3 separate regions of the Homo sapiens genome follow, and regions 2 and 3 are each linked to region 1. The links are contacts of gene promoters, found by promoter capture Hi-C in blood cells and fetal thymus (Javierre and others, 2016). All regions are on one chromosome and are shown on one strand. Each heading gives the region's core, a stretch centred on a gene start or on the middle of the fragment in contact. The rest is flanking DNA. Distances are from core to core; before and after follow the strand shown. Region 1 holds the start of TANK (TRAF family member associated NFKB activator). Region 2 overlaps GCA (grancalcin). Region 3 holds the start of MARCHF7 (membrane associated ring-CH-type finger 7).

Region 1 (2,700 bases), core at 49-2,548:
TCTACACAATGCAGTACCACGCCAACATTACAATAAAATAGAGCTACATATGGCAAGACTTTCACCATATATATATATTTAATCTGAAACAGATTATCGAACAGTATGCATAATCTCATTTTCATAAGAAAGCAAAATAACATGGTTATGCACATACAGGAAAGATGTGGAAGGCTTGGATTACAACTGGGGAGAGGACTGAGAAGGATTTCACTTCCTGCTTTGCACATAGTTGTATTATTTGAGGATCCCTCCTCTCTCAAATGAGGACACAATAATTTTTAACAGAATGCACTGCTTGCTTCTCTGCTACCTCTCGTTTGGGTGTGTATTCCAACCGCGGTAAGAAGGCAGGTCATTTTCTTTTCCTTCAATTTCACGTCGCTTCTTCACTTCCTTTACTACCATCTCTCCCTTATTATAACTTGTCAAAAGCATCTCCTGTGAGGTGAGATAAACACCACTTTACATAGCAAGGCTGCTTTACTTTTGCTCGTTATAGCATAACAATAAAGGCACAGCTCTTCTTTGATTATCCTCCCCCTTTCTACTTCTAGAAAAGCACAGCTTTTTTGCCTGTAACTCGTTGCTAGTCAGTTTACACCGGCGTGAGGACTCTACCTAACGCCTGGGTTCCCACTGTGGGCGGGGTTGGCTTCTGTTCTTCCTGCCTTGGCCACCCACTCCCTCCGTGACCCTCTGGGAAGTTACCCAACTTCTCATTGACCAGGCTATGATGACACCCCACAGGAAGGCAGAGGGGAATTGTGCAACCACCTTGGGAAAACAACAGAAAGAACCAATTAAGTTTTCGAAAGAGTAACCACGATACTACTTGATTCTAGGAGGCAGTCTCTCTCCCGAAGGGAAGTCGGGAATGTTCCTGGAGGGTCCACTGCTCACCTCGACACCGCAGGCCCTTCCACCCCCATTTCCCGGGCAAAGCAGCCGGGACGAGTCCCTCCCTTGAAGCCGTTGGGGCAGAGGCCGACGATGCTATGCTGACATCGCGGGCCCGGAAACCAACCCACAAGGAGTCCGCTCCGGGGGAAGGACTCGCGTGGTTTCTCCCGCACAAAATCCCTCCCCAAACTGCAAATTGGTTGTCTCCGCTGCTCCTCGGCTTCTCTCCCTGCGGCGCCCCTACTGTCAGCGCGTCCCTCTCGCTCACGCATACAAATTCTCCGACGTCGTGCTTGACGGATTCGGACACACCAATTCACAAAGTTTCTTACTCACACAGTTCACGCTTTCAGCTGCGTTCCCTCTCCCCTCAGGTCGCCGGCGCCTGGCCGAGTGACTCCAACCGGAAGTTGCATTTTGTTCCAGTTCAGAGGGCAGTGCCTGCGCGCGGAGCCATTAACTCTTCACCTCCACCCAACAAGGCCAGGGCCCTTCCGCCCTGCCCCACCCAGCCCAGGGCTCTTCTGCCCCGCCCCTGCCCGCCCCGCCTAGCGCCCTCCCCCAGCCCTGCCCAGCCAAGTCCCCGCCTCTTAGAAAAAAAAAGCGTCAGCAGCGGAAGAGAATCCTATGTCAAGTGTAAAGGTCACTTGTGAGTCTTTGCTGGATTTTTTTGCCAAACGATAAATAACCGGTAAATAAATAACCAGTAAATAAATAACATCACCCTATATATGAGTTAGAGTACACAAGAATCACCTGAGAAACAAAATGTAGTTTCACCAACCGACTCCTACAGCTTTCATTTCAGAGCAACTGGAGTGAAGCCCAGGAACCTGCATTTTCAACAGATCCTCGTAAATTTATGTAATTAAACGTGGTTAAAGTCCACACTCTGAGAAACACTACATATACACATACCCATTTGGTTTCTCCCCAACTGGTAGTATTTTTCACTAAATGTATTTGTTAAAGAGGAATGGCTGGAAATGGAGGTGGAACTTTATTAGAAAATTTCCCATGAATTAAGACTTTCCCATTATTCCAATTCCTAGCCATGCATGAATATTATCTAAGATTCATATCTTAGATACCGCAAGAAAGATATCTTTTCCCTTTAGGGCAAGAGGATGAGGTCTGGCTGCCCCAATTTCTCCCTGTATTTCTGAATCATGGATGTTTACACATCTTTCCTTAGGCCAGTAAGTCCAAGGATTTAAAAACCTGCCAAGTTGCAGTGCATTCTGTCTAGTTATCTTGAATGTTGCTGTATACTTTTAAAAGTCAAAGCCTAAATATATTTGAAACAATGTTTTTAACAAACAGAAACTTCTTATATATAACGTTTTGACCAGTTGAATAGTTTTCTTGTAATAAGTAATTGAGTTAAACATCACAATACAGTACTGCTTTAAAAAAATTATTTAAACTTTTTTTGAGGGCAGTTTTAGATTCACAGCAAAATGGAAAGGAATGTCCAGAGATTTTCCATATACTTTCTGCCCCGACACAAGCATAGCCCTTCCCCATTATCAACATCCCTCACCCCAGTGTGATGAAAAAAAGCTGTTATAAATATCTGTGTGCAGGTTTTTTTGTGCGGACATAAGTTTTCATCTCCTTTGGATAAATACCAAGTAGTATGATTGCTGGATCATAAGGTAAGAGAATGTTTAGTTTTGTAAGCAATTGCCAAATTGTCTTCCAAAGTGGCTACCATTTTGCATTCCCACCAGGAATGAATAAGAGTTCCTGTTGCTCCAAATCCTTGCCAGCATTTGGTGTTGTAAGTGTTCTGGA
Region 2 (2,700 bases), core at 101-2,600, 1.2 Mb before region 1:
AGACAAAAACACAAATATAGCAGGTGCTGCAATACATGCTGAAGCAGCAGCAAAAAAAAAAAGACAAGCTCATTTATTTCAACAACAGGAGATAAACATCAATACACCCTCTTTTCAATCCTTTAATATATCTGGAATTCATGCTACTATATGGTACAGGCTGAAGATTTACATTTACTTTTAGATAAACTGTTAATTATTTCAGGATAGTTAATTCAGGAATCATTCTTTCCCCACTGATATGAAATGCTACCTCTACCATATACTGAATTCACAGGTAAGCTTCTGGGCTCTTCAGTATTATGTTTGTTTTTACATTAGGACCACACTATCACAATTATTAATAATACATTTATATGATATATTATAATTTAATATTTATTCTCAACAACATAGTATACAAGACAGACTTTAGAATCATTGCAGCAAGTGCCAAAAAGAAAAAAGAAAAAGAAACCTTTAGGAATTTGACTCATATAATATTATATTATTTATCAATTAATTTGGAAGACATTGGCATCTTATAATATTGTATTCCTTCCGATCTTGAATATTTACTCAATACTTCTGTCAAATACAACTAATAACTGATACAAAGGGGTATAATACATATCCTATTTGCTTAATTTTCCTTGAAATTTCACATGAAAAATATATATAAAATCACTTGGAAAAGAATAAACTGTGGTATGGTGTTACAGTTATGTAGGAGTAAAAGAAAAGCTTCCGTTGACCACAGTATTCACATATCATCAGTAACAATTCACCCACAGAATTCATGTACTTGAACTGGCAGTTTCACACGTCCCTATTGGTCATAATAAAGTCAGTCCTTTAAATAATCACTCAAATTTACTGGAAACAAATAACATCCTAAAACCATACCACATCGTAACATACTATTTCCTTTAATTTTTAATTAATAAATCCTGACATGATTATTTTGATAACCTGGAAAATTTACCAGCCATATCAAATCAAAATTACTATAAATGATATAACTTCACCTGTGAAAAAAATGTAATTTCTCAACCTGAATAAATTTACGAGACTCTGAAGTGATTTCCAATCATATTGTTTGACATACTTAGGTTTTAACTGAGTTTTTTTTAAAAAATGGGAGTGAGGCCCAAGTTAGAAATATTGTTCCTTATAATTTTTTAAAGTGCTTCCTACTTTCCTAAAATTTCCAATAGTCATTTTTGCATGCTATAAAAGAATGTGCAGGCTAAACCTACTTAGCTTTGTGTTATCTATCACTCAGGGAGAGTATGATGCTCCTAAATGTCAAACAGAGTGAAGGAAATAAAAAGATTTAAGTGACAGAAAAATTATAACTCATAAGAAGATATATCTAAGTTTTGGTGGGGTGTTTAGTGACTAGTAAGAGGAGCCCCTTGTAGAAGAATTTCAGTAACGCAAGCATACTAGGTAAGAAAGAATCAGATTTCCGCACTATGGAAAACAATGTTTCCTCTTTTAGTCAAATGAACAATGTATCAAGCATCACATCAACAGACTTTTAAAATGAAATAATTATGACTATGCTCATCTCTGATCTCAGGAAAAAAATTAGTCTAGATACATATAAAATATAAATTTCATATACATTTAAAATGATACTCTAAATAGCTGACATTTCTCTTAAACAATAATTTTAAAGACATATTTATGCAATAAATTTAGCATCTCACCTGTCCAGCAACAGCACTGAAGTAAGTATACACGGAGTCACCAGCTGAGGAATAAGTGTCTGAATATGCTGGCCCAGAGTATCCATCGAGGAGTATAGCTGGGCCTGTTTCTGGCACTGGCTGTCCCATCTGCATTCCTGGCACCTGAATGCTAAAATTTCCAAACTATAATAGTGAAAGGGGAGAAGGTTAGTAATATAAATACTACCTATTATCTATGAAAGTTGGATTAAAAGAAATTATTAGAAGTCCGTCAAAAAGTAAACAGTTACCAAAAGCTTATAATCTTATCACAAAAATTTTAACTACAAAATGTTAGATGTCCTACATTAAGACATAATTCAATTCATCAACATATATTACCCAGCATTAAAAGAAGTATAAAAGAAAAAAGAAAGTTACTAGCCTCTAAGAACTTAATCTAAGAGGAACATGTACAATTTTAAAAAATGTTTACCAACATCACTGAAGTAAACAAAAAGTAAAACAATGCAAGATTTTACCTAAAGTAAAACTAAGAAGTAAACCTCAAGACACATACTTAGAAGAATATATGTGTAAATACAATGAAACTTTAAGTGTCAACATTTACAATATGTTGGGTATTGTATTCTTTACAACTATTTAAACTTAAAATAAAAACTTTATATGTCAATATAAAATATGGGAAAAGGGTATATAGTTTTTCAAAAATCTTTTAAGGGGCGGGAAGCAAAATGTTTAAAGAAACTGCTGTGGTTCTGGTAGTATCCTGAGGGATGACATAGAGTTCTGTATGCTGGCCTCCCACTTGTTTCTTTTCAGCCTATTGTGACTTATTACAGTTTATATATGTGGGATTCTCTGATGTTACAGATTATGTGATCTAGTTTTAACTAAAGCCATAACAAAATGGCAATAGTAAAGATTCAAAAACATGCAAAGCAACATGAAAGGCTTGGACATGAAAATATTGTCTAAGCCTTTCCTTACCCACATTATGTAGTAATAATAATAATGATCAATT
Region 3 (2,700 bases), core at 184-2,683, 1.4 Mb after region 1:
CACTAAACTTGGAAAAAAACCAAGACTAGTATTATGTCCCCTAGTGACTGCTTCACACACCACCTCAGCAAATTTAATCCTCTCTAGAAATTAACTGCCATGTTTCTGAGACAATCTCGTGAACTTAAATAACTATGGCAAAAATCAAGACTCAAACCCAGGTCTTCTGAGTCTGGTGCTACTGCCTCATGCACCAGTCCTGTCTCCCAAAATGCTGTAGAGCTGTTAAATAAAAATATTATACTGACCTCATTTCTCAAACAAACTTTTTGCTACCTCAAGTAAAAGATCTAGTTACACTACATGTGTGCCTTCTTAATAACTGTATACTATTGGATTTTTAAATCGAAAATTCATCTTTAATCCTACATCTTGGTTCTGGACAGAAAGGTGGAGATTTAAAATAACATGTAATCAGAAAAATAGCTAATCAATCCTACAAAATGGGGGAGAAAACCTCGCCAAATTTCAGTTTTCACACATTTAACTAATAGTAACAAACAACATTAGTCGTGACGAATTTATTACCCAGATAGACTTTCCCAATATATTTACTTTGGTACTTGAGAAAAAGTATTAAGTGCAGCATTTTGGGGTGAGGGGGTGGACACACATCTTCAATACGCAGTTTCACCAAAATGAGGGAGTTTCCTACTCCCGGCGCCTTCTATATTTTTACTTCTTAGGCCAACAGGTCCATTTTTAATACAATCACCTACTTCGAGTTGCAGAACCCACAATTCACCACAACACAAAAATAACTCTCAGGGCGTCACGATATTCAAAAACTGACGTTACCAATAAGACAATCTTGGCCGAATCTAAGGGGCTACCGAAGTCACTTCGACTCGAGGCCGGGCTGGCCGAGCCGGAGCCCTGCCCGCCTTTGCCCCGCGCTCACCGGCGAGCTCACGCGCGACACCCGCGGCCCGCAGGGCTCCGAAGACCCCCCGCCCCACGGCCCAAGAGGAGGCCGCCCCGCGCCAAAGGAGGGCTCAGGCTTCTTCCCGTCACCCGCCACACGTCCCTGAGGAAGACACACAATCTGTCCCCTGCACCCGCCACAAACTCCACCACCCGACCAAAGGCCCCTGGCAAGGGAGGCCTGCGCTGTGGCCCCTTGGCCCCGGTGGCCCCGGACCAAGCTTCTCCACCTCATCCTGAGAGGAAGCGGCCTCCGCGTCCCCAGGCCTCTTCGTTTCCTCCCCTCCCCCACTCGCGGCCTGGTCCCGAACTAGCGCCCAAGACGGAGAAGAACTAGCTCCGCAGCTCATTACCCCGGCTCCTGAGCCGGCACCGACCAGTGCGCGTCCCACTCGCAGCAACACGCACCGCCGCCTTTCTCCTTGGAGTTCTAGGCCCGTGACTGAGGAAATGCAGTCGGCAGCGAAGCACAATGGCGCCCGCCCCTCTCCCGGATCCGGCGCAGAACCAGCCACCACCGTTAAGTGCCCCTCCCTGCTCCTCCTCCCCCCACTTCGCGGACTTCCTGGCTTCTCGCGAGAGTGGCGGCGCGGCGGGGACCGAGAGCTGCGGGCGGGCTGGAGGTACCCCACCGCGGGGTGGTGCTCTGACTGCGGGAACCGTTGAAGAGCTGCCCCCGGGGAGTCAGCGAGGCGCCACTGGTAAGCGGCAGCGGCTGGCTGGCCGGCGTGCCGGCAGCTGGGCTGGCGAGTGTGCGGGCGCCGGGCGCTGGAGGCCCGGGCCGGGGCGGTCCCCGCCCGTCTATAGTCTCTGAGCCAGCCCCTTCCCTCCCGGGCGCCGGGTCCCCGCCCACAGGCCCACCTGCAGGGCCCCGTGCTCGAAATAACGCCCAGCTGGTTGGCTTTTTTTTTTTTTTTTTTTCTTTTTCTGGCTCTTGGTAAGTGGCGCAGTGAATGTTGAATTGAATCAAGCACTGCCTTTTCCGACCTACCCCTCCCCGCTTGCTTCCCTGCCCGCCCTGTGTGATCTAACTGCAAGCCCTTTCCCTTAAGAGTTGGAGCCTGTTTGTCCAACCTTGTGATCATTTCCTTGTGGTAAGAATCTTGGTAAATGATGGTGATCATGTCTTTTAAAATCGTGATAGTAACCTTTAATAGCGTAGCCATCGATTTTGCAGTAAACAAATTCACCTATTTAGAAAGAGGGAGGAAAATTGTGAGGTGAATGGTCTGGTGAATATTAGATGAAACTTTCAAAGAACTGTAAATGTGGCAAACTAAGATGTAAATGAGTACTAATAAATAAAAGGGAGTAGGTTAGGGAAAAGCTACATCTAACTATGTGTAAATATTTAGATGATATGTTGATTTGGAATAATGAATCAAAAGTTTTTTAATGGAAAAGATCAGTTATTGAAACTTGGAAGAATACTGAAAGGCACTTGATTTTTTTTAATGACCTATTTTGTTAAGGTATTAAAAGCAATCCTTTGGATCCAAATAATTCCAATAAATGAAACACAGTGTTTCTACGTGTTTGTCATTACATCGGAAGGGAATGGAGTATCAGTCACTATCATCCTTATTTTATTGTCTTGGGGACTAACAGACTGTACATGTTTCACTATGATAAATTCTAAAATACTATAAATTTTAAAGACTTAAAGGTATTTTAAGTTGGCATGTAAGTGCCAATCTAACTTTTAGGATATGAAATGAAAATAAGCATCTGGTATGGGATAAAGTGAACAGAGATTACTTTTGAGGAAATTAATTT

Evidence for each region. The method cuts DNA at HindIII sites, captures the fragments that hold promoters and counts their contacts. A CHiCAGO score of 5 or more calls a contact.
Region 2: a fragment that was not itself captured here is called in contact with the fragment with the promoter of TANK in region 1 in 1 of 17 cell types (non-activated CD4 T cells); the score reaches 5.4 in non-activated CD4 T cells.
Region 3: the fragment with the promoter of MARCHF7 here is called in contact with the fragment with the promoter of TANK in region 1 in 1 of 17 cell types (non-activated CD4 T cells); the score reaches 5.7 in non-activated CD4 T cells.

What each region holds. Positions count from the first base shown.
Region 1 is chr2:161,159,026-161,161,725 of GRCh38, reverse strand. TANK (TRAF family member associated NFKB activator) reads right to left here and starts at 1,298. Exons shown (of 8, transcript NM_001199135.3): 1 at 1,240-1,298. It overlaps TANK-AS1 (TANK antisense RNA 1), which reads left to right and starts at 1,436. Exons shown (of 3, transcript NR_187173.1): 1 at 1,436-1,594; 2 at 2,490-2,561. RefSeq lists an enhancer at 825-1,588. The HindIII fragment of the contact is 6,780 bases long and covers 1-2,700 here.
Region 2 is chr2:162,346,737-162,349,436 of GRCh38, reverse strand. GCA (grancalcin) reads right to left here. Exons shown (of 8, transcript NM_012198.5): 2 at 1,695-1,859. Among named protein-coding and RNA genes, the nearest start is that of GCA, 4.0 kb to the right of the region's middle. The HindIII fragment of the contact is 1,249 bases long and covers 726-1,974 here.
Region 3 is chr2:159,711,239-159,713,938 of GRCh38, reverse strand. It overlaps MARCHF7 (membrane associated ring-CH-type finger 7), which reads right to left and starts at 1,433. Exons shown (of 12, transcript NM_001282805.2): 1 at 1,333-1,433. It also overlaps a transcript of BAZ2B not described here. RefSeq lists silencers at 835-954, 1,475-1,984 and enhancers at 1,145-1,424, 1,192-1,858. The HindIII fragment of the contact is 3,093 bases long and covers 1,148-2,700 here.